4 separate regions of the Homo sapiens genome follow, and all the other regions are linked to region 3. Evidence: promoter capture Hi-C in human tissues and cell types (Jung and others, 2019). All regions are on one chromosome and are shown on one strand. The core of a region is centred on a gene start or on the middle of the fragment in contact, and the rest is flanking DNA. Distances in the headings are between cores, read along the strand shown.

The links. The method cuts DNA at HindIII sites, captures the fragments that hold promoters and counts their contacts. A contact is called where the count stands out against the background at its distance.
Region 1: a contact is called between a fragment that was not itself captured here and the fragment with the promoter of NT5M in region 3, in 1 of the 25 tissues and cell types used here (spleen).
Region 2: a contact is called between the fragment with the promoter of ATPAF2 here and the fragment with the promoter of NT5M in region 3, in 2 of the 25 tissues and cell types used here (heart right ventricle and mesenchymal stem cells).
Region 4: the fragment with the promoter of ALKBH5 here is called in contact with the fragment with the promoter of NT5M in region 3 in 1 of the 25 tissues and cell types used here (spleen).

The regions. Positions count from the first base shown.
Region 1 is chr17:17,853,400-17,856,099 of GRCh38, reverse strand. The region is part of intron 12 of TOM1L2 (target of myb1 like 2 membrane trafficking protein); the gene reads left to right. Among named protein-coding and RNA genes, the nearest start is that of SREBF1, 18 kb to the right of the region's middle. The HindIII fragment of the contact is 7,112 bases long and covers 1-2,700 here.
Region 2 is chr17:18,037,685-18,040,474 of GRCh38, reverse strand. ATPAF2 (ATP synthase mitochondrial F1 complex assembly factor 2) reads left to right here and starts at 1,307. Exons shown (of 8, transcript NM_145691.4): 1 at 1,307-1,594. The coding sequence starts at 1,462. GID4 (GID complex subunit 4 homolog) reads right to left here and starts at 1,067. Exons shown (of 6, transcript NM_024052.5): 1 at 573-1,067. The coding sequence starts at 1,010. RefSeq lists enhancers at 59-118, 1,269-1,378, 1,519-1,568, 1,579-1,648 and silencers at 469-1,058, 1,069-1,158. The HindIII fragment of the contact is 10,779 bases long and covers 1-2,007 here.
Region 3 is chr17:17,301,939-17,304,638 of GRCh38, reverse strand. NT5M (5',3'-nucleotidase, mitochondrial) reads right to left here and starts at 1,266. Exons shown (of 5, transcript NM_020201.4): 1 at 822-1,266. The coding sequence starts at 1,088. RefSeq lists silencers at 697-886, 1,017-1,116, 1,167-1,336. The HindIII fragment of the contact is 23,347 bases long and covers 1-2,700 here.
Region 4 is chr17:18,182,492-18,185,191 of GRCh38, reverse strand. It overlaps ALKBH5 (alkB homolog 5, RNA demethylase), which reads right to left and starts at 1,364. Exons shown (of 4, transcript NM_017758.4): 1 at 179-1,364. The coding sequence starts at 948. RefSeq lists silencers at 487-638, 797-886, 967-1,266 and enhancers at 532-1,369, 1,477-1,716, 1,777-1,976. The HindIII fragment of the contact is 6,004 bases long and covers 1-2,700 here.

The sequences.
Region 1 (2,700 bases), core at 165-2,664, 550 kb before region 3:
TGTCTCTGCCCACACAGACTGCCTCGCCACTGCCAGGTCCCACGTAGAGCTCCAGTCTCTAACTTCCCAGAAACAAACCTAACTAACAGCTAACCTGGTGTCTTGCCTGACTGACTGCAGTTTGTTTTTTTTTTTTTCTTTACAACAAATATTAATTGCTTTGCCTTATTTCCCATAGTGTAGAAACCTTGAGTCTTTTCAAGCCTCCTGAGTACAAATTCTTTACTTGGAAACTTTTTGTACTATTGAGTGAGATCAAAGGCTTTTAGACTTGGTCCCAGTGGGGTGGTGCTTGAAGTGACATAGGAAGGGATTCACAGCTTCTCTGGAAATAGTACACCTGAGCTACAGAAATTGTTCTTGTTACATTGAAAACTGGACAGGTGGGTTTCCTTGTGGGCATGGGGCTGTGGGAAGCTGCAGAGGAGCATCTGTTGGAACCCTTATGCTCCTGGGACTCAGGTGTGTGGATAGCCAACACAGAAGTTAACTGACACCACCAGGCTTATTACTGGTTGAAGAGAAATGAGACTTGTCAATGGGCTAGGGCCGGGCGGCTCTCAGGGAGACTGCTAGGCTTGTGCTCTCCCTCCCTGGCCTCTCTAGTGTGAGGTCTTTTTGCCTCTCTTGGCTGGTGATCAGCTAGGGGTGTCTCCCTTTTGCAGGGTGCAGCCAGGAAAATATCCTCATGTGAGAGAATCTAAGTCAAAACAAGAACAGAGGTAGGTTAGTAAAGAATGCTGCTGCCAAAACCCAGGCTTGGGTTTGGAGGGCGGGACTCCCTCCTCAGACCTGGAGGCCCCCAAGGCTCTTACTCTGGAAGGATAATCCTAACCCCTGGAGTACCAGACAGACATGCCTCTCCCCCTTGGGCAGGCAACCCTCCCTCCTGATCCCTGAGGCAGAGCTGCCCCTGCCTGCAGTTCCAAGTGAGAATCAGCTGACAGCAGGATGGCTCACCTGCCACTCAGATCAAAACCTGTGGCTTCTGACATCCAAGATGTCTGTGGACTTTGAAAATGGGCAGGGCTGGTCTAACCACTGCCTCAGCCAAGCCAGCCTGGCCTACCTATCTTCAGAGGGGCTGAGCTTCAGGCAGCAGTCTCTATTGGAGGGCATTCCTCTGCTAGCTTCCTTCCTTTTCTCTCTTCACATGTCTTCTTCCTTTCTGTCCCTCTCTTCCAACTCATACGCTTCTTCAGATCCCTCAGACCAGCCTTCAGCTTGGATCATTGCCCAAGAAAATGCTGAAACTATGGCATGTCAGGCTGGGTGCAGTGGCTCACATCTGTAATCCCAGCACTTTGGGAGGCCAAGCTGGGCAGATCATTTGAGGCCAGGAGTTTGAGATCAGCCTGGCCAACATGGCAAAACCCTGTCTCTACTAAAAATACAAAAAAAAAAAAAATTAGGCAGGTGTGGTGGCTCACGCCTGTAATCCCAGCTACTCAGGAGGCTGAGGCACAAGGATTATCTGAACCTGGGAAGCAGAGGTCGCAGTGAGCTGAGATCGCACCACTGCACACCAGCCTGGGCAACAGAGCAAGACTCTGTCTCTAAATAAATTAATTAATTAAATAAATAACTAAATAAATAAATAAAAATAAAAATAAAACTATGACACATCAGAGCCAACAGCCTTCTTAGGAATCTGCTGGGCCAGCCCCTAGTCTGACAGATGAGGATACCGAGGCCTCCTAAGGGCCTGGTGTCTTGCCCAAAGCTGCAGGGAAGAAACAGAGTCCCCTAAGACTCAGCGCAGTGCCCCCTGCTCCAACCAGGGCCCCACTTCCCTCCCATCAGCCTGACAAGGAGCGCGTCCTCGGCCTCCCACAGTTTCTTTGGTTCATATTTTCCAAGCAGTGTACATGTTTAGTCTGAGTCTGATAGCACCTACATTATTAGAAGGAACTTTGCCCTGTTATAATACTCAAGGCATTTATTTACCAGGACAAGAGGTTTAGATAGCTAAGGTTTTGTGTCTGGCCACAAGAAAGTCAATTTAAGCTTACGTTATATAAGCTTAACTGTTAACCATCACCCTGCTCCACCATGGTTCACGCCCTGAGGCCAAGTGGCTTCTATATTGTAATGAGTCAGTTTCCATAATTTCTGACATCCCTGGGTTTCTGAATTAGAAAACAGAAGCACCAACCTGAAAGTTAAGGTTTCTGAGTCATAAGAATTGAAAGCCAAATACAATCTAGCAATCGCCTTATTTCACAGATGAGGAAATTGAGGCCAAGCATTGCTCAGGCCTCTGTCCCCTGCTCCTGCCTCTCCACCCAAATCTCTAAGGCTTCTTAGGATAGAAGAAACTCAGGAGCTCTCCGGTGAAGAAAGTGGGGTCCAGAGAGGAGCGACTCACCCCAGGTCCTGCCACCAGTGAGTGTGAGGGCCCAGATGGACCCCACCCAGTGCACTCTCCTCAGCGTGCCCTCTAGGGCTTGGTCTGGAGGATGCCATTCCATAAACATACTACTTATTTGGAAAAATCTAGGACATGGAAGAAAAGGGTTCCCATGAGCCAGCTTTTGGGAAGTTATTTTTGAGGAGGTGAGGAATTTCTTAAGTGTCATTGTTTATTTTCTGAGCATGTTGGCTCTCAAGATTTATCCCCAAAGAAGAAAATTAAAGTATGACCCCAGGCCTCAAGGGATTTGTTCTTTAGCAGCAACAAAACAATTACAAGAAAAATCT
Region 2 (2,790 bases), core at 58-2,557, 740 kb before region 3:
TTGCGGGTTAGGTGCTCCCCCGTCTGGGGGTCTGATGAAGCCCTCCTAAGGAGATCTCAGGAGGAGGAAGACCCCAAGGTCTGCGGATTCCTGGAACTGAGGAAGGGGCAGGAGGACATGTCTCAGGTCTGAGAGAATCTGACGTGGGCCCAGACATGGGGAGGGTCCCAAGTCTGGTGAAACCAATGGAGAGTTCTTCAGGGTCTGAAAAGGGCTGGTGGCAGTCCCTGATCTAGGGACGACAGGTCATGGGGAGGAAGGACCCAGGCCTTCTCCGAGTCATGAGGGGCTTCCGGATCCCAGACGGGCCGGTCACGGGCTTCAAGTCTGGGAGTGTTCGGGGTCCGCCAGGAGCCGGTCACGACGGGCTCTGGGTCCGAAGGGGCAGGTCAGGGCTGGGGCTCGGAGAGTGTGAGACACAGGCTGGGAAGGTCCCGGGTGGGAAGCGCCGGGTGCAGGAGGCCCCGGCGGCGAGGGCCTGTTCCGCGGCTGCGGGGTCGAGGAGCCGAAGCGGGCACGGCCCGTGAGCGCCGCGAGGAGGCCCTCGGGCCCCGGCCCGGCCCGGCGCTCACCTGCAGCACCACCTCTACGTCGTACGAGTTCCCCTTGCTCTTCTGGTGGCCGCGGAACTTGGAGCCGCTGTAGAGCAGGCTGGTGGCCACGCCGGGCTGCTGGGTGTTGATGGGCGGCGGCGGGATGAGTGAGGCCGCGGAGGCAGCGGAGGCACCGGCCGGCGGGGGACACTCGGTGCGGACCGGCATCGCGGGGTCCCCCGGAGCCAGGGCTGGGGGGAGTGGGAGAGGAACCGCCGCCGCCGCGCGGGAGCCGAGGAGGGTGGCGGGGAGGGAGAGGCCGGGGCGCGCACGCGCGGGGTGGGGGCGGGAGGGGCGACCACCCGCCCGCTGCCTGCGGAGCAAGCGCTCCGGCCGCCACCGGGACCCAGGGACCTGCGAGCAGGGCCTCCCAGTCCTGAGCTGGGTCCCCCTCCCGACTTGCCCTCGCGCACACATACACACACACAGACACTCACAGACACACAACACACAAACACACACAGACACACACACACCCCGCCCCTTCCGATTGGCTCAGGCGAGCCTGGGGGGCGGGAGCAGGCTCAGGCGGCGCTTCCGCCCATTGGCGGGAGGAGAAAACACGTGGCGCGGTGCGCGAGCGGCCCGCTGGGACTTGTAGTCTCCTCGCCGAGGCGCGGCGTGGAGGGGGCGGGGCGAGGTGCGTTTGTGATGCTGATTGACTGGGGGTGTGCGCAGGAGGCGCGCGGCGGCGACGGCGCGCCGTAGGTGTCATGCGGAAGATGGCGGCGTCCAAGGGAGGTTGAGGGCTCTGAGGAGGCGTTGAGAGGTTTCCGTACAGCCCGACCGTGCGGCTTTGGGGATCCCATCGCTCTGTGTTTCCTGCTCCAGGTTTCGCGTCTCGCATCTTCCCAGACCCTCGGGCGCGATGTGGAGGAGCTGCCTCCGGCTGCGGGACGGGGGACGCCGTCTCCTGAATCGGCCGGCGGGTGGCCCCAGCGCTTCTATGAGTCCGGGGCCAACCATCCCGTCTCCAGCCCGGGCTTACGCCCCGCCGACAGGTAAGACCATGACATGTTCTTTTGGGTTGGGGCCGAGCTGGGGTAAGGTGGGCTTCGGGCTTCGGCTGTGCAAAGCGAAGTAACTGAGGCAGGGTTCAGGCTCATGAGGTTATGCAGGCCAGTCAGGTCTTTTTACAGATGAGAAAGTGAAGCCCAGACAAGGGCAGACGACCCGAGAGGGAACAGCGAGTCACGCACGATACAGTAATTGATATTTGGCCTGTGCAGGTTTTCTCAAAGCTTATGGCTGCCCTCCCTTTAATAAGGAAAGCAGGTGTCATCTTTGTTTTCAAAAGGGGAAGTTTGGGCTCTGAATCAGGACTTCGTCTGGGTTACAGGCAGACTCTCTCAGAGGTTTGTGGTGTCTGTCTGACTGTTTTCCGTGTCTCCACTGCCCAACACAAGACCTGCCCAGAAGGGACCTAGAACCTGGGCCTTCATTCCTCCATCCCGGGCACTTCTGCTGCAGGTTTCCTGACTTTCCCTCCTACCACAACCTCTGCCATCTGCAGCCTTCTCTCCTAAATAGAAATTGACACCTCCACCTCTGACTGTGGAGTCACCTCCACCTCCAACTCTGATGAAGCTTAGAAGTAGTGGCTCTTTCATTGCTGATGGTGAGTGGTGTCAGGGTAAGAGTGAGAATGACTCATTTCAGTGAATGAAGAGCAGTAACACCCTCCCACCATTCAATTAGTTTTATTGTGCTGGAGGCAGGAGGCACGGTTGTCTTTAAGACCCACCTGTATGTATTGGTAGAGAAGCTCAATTAAAGAAGAAAAAGGCCCACCTGAATGATGTTCACTGTTCATTGCAAAAGGTTATAATATTCTGATTAAATTGTGGTTTATAATATCCTGATAAGGGACATACAAAGAAACTGTGAGAACACAGAGAATCGCTTACTCCCATCTTGGGGATGTTCAGGGTTTAGAATGGGTCTTGGGTGAAAGGGCGTTTGTTTAAGCTGAGCCATGATAGATGAGTAGGAGTTCAGCAAAAAGGTGGGAGAGTGTTGGGTATCTAGAACGTGTCCAGGGTGACAGCAAGGTATGAGGGACTTTTCCCTGACACTGCCTGTTTTAGAAAATCCAGAACTTCACAGGCAGTTTGGCATTGTGGCAGGAGTGCAAATCTAGGATCTGATGCTGGCTGAACCTCTGAGGTCTGTGTGATCTTGGGCATGCAACTACTTC
Region 3 (2,700 bases), core at 17-2,516:
CTAAAAAACGGGCTCTTGTAACTTCCTTCTCCTCTTTATCAAACCCTCCAGCAGCAACCCTAGGTGGCCAATCAAGGGATGCCAAAAAACACTCAGCCTCTTTAATTTTGTGCATACCAAAATCCCCTGTTCCTTTTGCAAAATACTTCAAATTTACCAACCAAGATCTGTGTGTAAACGTCCCTCCTTGGATCTTTCCCCTCTATCCATCCTGGACAGAACACCTCGGGAGTCGGATGGTAGGGGTTGAGCTCAGGTGTTCAGCAAGGCCAGCTCTGCAAGGGGATAAGACATGAGGTGGATCCCACCTCACCTGGACCACTGACTCACTGTGTGACCCCCAGAAAGTCACACAACCTCTCTGGGCCTCAAATACCCCTGGAAGCTATGCTTTCATGGACAACAGTAAAAAAGATGGGTAAAGACACCCATCAAAGTCCTGGGGACAAAGAAGTGGGAATGTGACTGCGGTCGGGGTGAAAGAGGACAACTTATAACGTTTATTTTTCTAAAAATTTAACAAACGACTTGAGGCCAAATATGCCACAAATTTTGAAGTCAGCTTTAAATGCAGAGTTAGGTATATTAACACTTTGTACTCTCCCGCATTTTCAGAAACCTTGGATGGCAGCCAACAGATCCTGAGCGCGGGGCCGCATCTTCCCGGTGCGCTGTGGCCCCTAGTCCCCCCCAGACCCTATTCTATCAGAGGGCCACCCCGAGGCTGGGGCGCTGACCGTCCAAGGTCACCGGCGCAGGGGCGGTGTCTGGGGCTCGGGGCGAGAAGGAGGCCCGGCGCGGGGCGGGGCGGGGACGCTCACGCTCAGCCCTGGCCGCAGGCGGCCGTACTGCTCCGACACCCAGAAGCCGCGCCGGTCCTCCAGCGCGATGAAGGGCTGGTCGGGAAAGCGCGCGCGGAACTTCCTGAGGAATCCGCCCTCGAAGTCAGCCAGCACGCCGTCCATGTCCACCAGCACCCGTAGGGCGCGGCCTCCCGCCAGGCCCAGCCCGCCCGCCGCCCCGCGCCGCCCCGCGGGAACCGCCGCGCTGCAGAGCCGCCGCGCACACCAGCCGCCCAGCCGGATCATGGCCCAGCGCGCTGGCCCGTCGTGGGCGCGGGGACCTGGGCCGCGCCGTGCTGCCGGAGCCGGCCAGACATTCCCGCCGCGGAGGAGAAGCCCCCAACGCTGGGGCGCGCGTGGAGCGCGGGACGGGGAGCGGGGCGGGGAGCGCGGGGTGCGGGCGCGCAAGTACCGGCCCCAGAGCGAGGCCGCGGCGCGCGCGGTCCCTAAAGGAACACGCGCCGGCGGAGGCGGAGCCCCGGGGCGGGGCTTCGAGGACGGACAGCGGTAAGCGCCGCGCGCCTCCAGAAGGTCCGCGCTCCCGCGCTGTCGATTTGCGTCTTCTCCGTGGACCCTGGGCCCGGGCTGCCTTCTCCCACTGCACAGACTACCATGGAGGAGCAGTGCAAACCGAGAAGCAGGCCTGTGTCGTTAGACATTTTTGAGCACTAACTGTGTCGAGTGTGAACCAAATAGACAAAGTTCCTGCCATCCTGGAACTTACGTTTTAGAAGGGGATCCAGACAACAGGATGGAGGAACAAAAACAGGGTGCACTCTGAAAGCCTCTCTGCTTTATTTACAGCAAATGTCTGCGGAGAGACTGATAGAACCAATATCTGCTAACATCATACAGCCTTAGTAAAACTGATGATTCTCAGGTAAATATATGAATAAATATTAAGTACCCCTGTATTGCTTTTTTTTTTTTTTTTTTTTGGAGACGGGGTCTTGCTCTGTTACCCAGGGTGGAAGCAGTGGCATGATCTCGGTTCCCTGCAGCCTTGAGTTTCTGGGCCCAAGGGATCGTCCTGCTTCTGCCTCCTGAGTAGCTGGGACCACAGGGGCCTGCCACCACACCCTGGTAATTTTTTTTTTTTTTTTTTTTTTTTTGAGACAGGAGTCTTCCTATGTTGGGCTCAAACGATCCTCCCACCTCAGCCTCCCAAAGTGCTGGGATTACAGGCGTGAGCCACCGCGCCCGGCCTCTTTTCAACTTTTAAGTACAGGGATACATGTGCAGATTTGTTATATAAATTGACTGTCTTGGGGGTTTAGTGTACAGATTATTATTACCCAGGTAATAAGCGTAGTTCCTGATAGGTAGTTTTTCCATCCTCACCCTCCTCCCACTCTCCACCCTCAAGTAGGTCACCGTGTCTGTTGTCCCCATCATTACGTCCATGTTTACTTAATGTTTAGTTCCCGCTTTTAAGTGAGAGCATGAGGTATTTAATTTTCTGTTCCTGTGTTTGCTTAGGATAATTGTCTCCAGCTCCATCCATATGGCTGCAAAAGACATGATCTTATTCTTTTTTTATGACTGTGAAGTATTCTATGGTATATATGTACCACATTCTCTCCCTTTTTTTTTTTTTTTTCTTGATAGGGAGTCTTGCTCTTGTTGCCCAGGCTGGAGTGCAGTGGCAGGATCTCGGCTCACTGCAACCTCCACCTCCCAGGTTCAAGCGATTCCCCTGCCTCAGCCTCCCAAGTGGCTGGGATTACAGGCGCCCACCACCACACCCAGCTTTTTTGCATTTTTAGTAGAGACAGGGTTTCACTATGTTAGCCAGGCTGATCTCCAACTCCTGACCTTGTGATCTGCCCGCCTCGGCCTCCCAAAGTGCCGGGGTTAC
Region 4 (2,700 bases), core at 115-2,614, 880 kb before region 3:
TTTTCTTGCTATAGGTATCTTAAACACAAAACCCTTCTCTCGCTCCCTACAATCTACAAACAGAAGAACTGGTCAGAACTGTAAAAAACGCAGACTCCTACGGGCTGCTGCTTTCTGGGCCAGGGTGGGTAGCTAAGGCAGCAGGCGCAGGGCCGCCCCCTCCACCCGGGTGGGTTACCTGAGCACAGTCACGCTTCCCCTGCGCACCGGCAGGGAAAGCACTGGTTCCGACACCCGAATAGGCTTGAACTGGAACTTGCAGCCGAAGCACAGCGCAGAGTCGCTAAAGAAGGACACGGACACGATGGGGCGCTCGAAGATGTGGATGGGGTCCACGTGAGACACGATGCAGCCGCCGGGCTGGTAGTCGTTGATGACGGCGCTGTTGACGAAGCCCTCGGGGATGACGCGGTGCTCCACCAGCTTTTGGATCACCAGCTGGTGCACCCACTCGGGGATCTCGTCCACGTCGCCCGGCGGGTAGAGGCGCTCCTGGCCGGGCCCGCGCTTCTGCAGCTGGGCGCCGTAAGTGTAGCCTTCGCCGAAGAAGTACTTGTTGCGCAGTGGGGCCCGGTCCACCGTGTGCTCGTTGTACAGGCCCTTCTCAGCGCGGGACACCACCTCGTCAATGCGGGCCTCGATCTTGGCGCACTCGTCCTGGCTGAAGAGGCGCATCTGGCGGATGCCGCTCTTCACCTTGCGCGCCTCCTCCTCCTTCTGCAGCTGCTGCTCCTCATAGTCGCTGCGCTCGGGGTCCGAGTCCTCCTGATACTTGCGCTTGGCCCCGGACACAGGGTAAGGTTCGGCGGCAGCGGCGGCTGCGGCTGCGGCGGCTACGGCGGCTGCGGCAGCGGCGGCGGCCTCCCGGCTGCCCGCCTTATAGTTGTCCCGGGACGTCATGGACTTGAGCTTCTCACGCAGGTCCGTGTAGCCGCTGGCGGCCGCCATGGCCCCCACGACGCTGCTCTAGGGTCCTCCGGGGCGGGCGGGGCAGCCGGGCATGGCTCTAAGGGGACGCGCCCCGGGGCCCCCGGAGGGAGGGGGGTCCTTAGCGCCGAACCCCCATGCGTGAGTGGGGGACCCGGCGGGGGGCGTCGAGGGTCCGGGCGTGGGGTAGGGCCTCAGGAGCGGCGGGTCATGCAACGGTGGCGACAACGGGGCTTCTTCCTCCTCCACCTTCTCCACGTCCCGCGGGGCAGGGGCGCCGGCAGCGCCTCATGCCGCGGAGGGCTGCTGCGGAGACGCGGCCCGACTCCCGACCAGACCCTCGGACGCCCGGCCCGGCCCGCACTTTAAAGCTCTCCGCACGACGTCACGGGCAGCCAGCCCGACGTCCGCCAGCGCCGCTCCTTAGCGGGCTCCTCACCGCGCACGCGCAGTGCTGCCGGCCACCGCGGCTCCGCGCGCTACGGGCATGCGCGTGCGTGCAGGCCGGGTCGGCAGAGGCGCCGGCGCAAGCGCAGACAGGAACCGCTTGCCGTCCGCCGCCCCTCCCCCACTCTCTGAGGGGCTTCAAGGGAACGCTCTCAAATAGCAACCTGTCTTCACGCCGCGCCGCCTCCAGGACCGAAGGGCTCCCTCTACAGGGGTGCGCTCATATTGCCAACAGTGTCGCCGTGCCGCGTCACGGCATCGTCCGAACGCCCGCAGACGCCTCAACCCCAGGGCGCATTCACCAGGGAACCGCCACAACGTAGGCCGCTCCGTTACCTCCCCCTTTGGCGCTTCCACTTCTTTAATTGGGCCGTGGGCCACGCGCCGGGCAGGCCCTGACTGGAGTTTCCGGAAGTCGGTTGGTAATCATGCGTGTCAATCAGGCAGTCTCCTTAGCTACTGTGTCCGTCACTTAATTAGCGGCTGGGCGAGCAGCGAGGACCCCTAAAGGAGAAATGGGTGGTTAAATAAGTGCCTGAATGGAGACTCCACCTGAGTAAAGCCCTTAGAACGCCTAAGGAAACTTCTGAAACCCGCGAAAACTTCTCAGACTGCGGGACCTGCAGCACCCGGCCCCAGTTCTGAACCCAGATAGGAACGTCCGGCAGAAGCCAGACGCGCGTTGTCGGGGTACAAGCCAGCCTGCCGCCGCTGCCGCCGCCGCCCGGAGCGGACGTTTCACGAGTCACGTCCCGGTGACGGCGAGCGTGGGGGCGCGCTGGGGTTGGCGTCGAGCCTCCTTGGTGCTGGAGATGGGCGTGGGGGCACCTCCTACGGGGACTCTGGAAGAAAACTCCAGGAAACGAACGGGCGCAAGGCTAAGGCTAAGCTATAGATAATGACTACAGTCAATTCAAAAAAGTTTTGAAGCAGTCAGCAAAGGCGTTGCCGGGCGCGGGGCCTCACGCCTGTAATCCCAGCACTTTGCGAGGCCAAGGCGGGCGGATCACTTGAGCCCAGGAGTTTGAGACCAGCCTGGCCAACATGGCAACCCCATCTCTACAATAAAATTTTTAAAAATGAACTGGGCGTGGTGGCGCGCGCCTATGGTCCTAGCTACTCAGGAGGCTGAGGTGGGAGGATCCCTTGAGCCCAGGGGATTGAGGCTGCAGAGAGCCGAGCTGGCGCCACTGCACTCCGGCCTGGGCGACAGAGCTGCAAAACAAAACAAAAAGGCGTAGCCGTGCAGGATGCACTGGAGGGCTCCAACAAATGGGGGTCGGGGGGGATCTGCTGGAAAATCTCCCATGTCTCCCAGGATAAAGT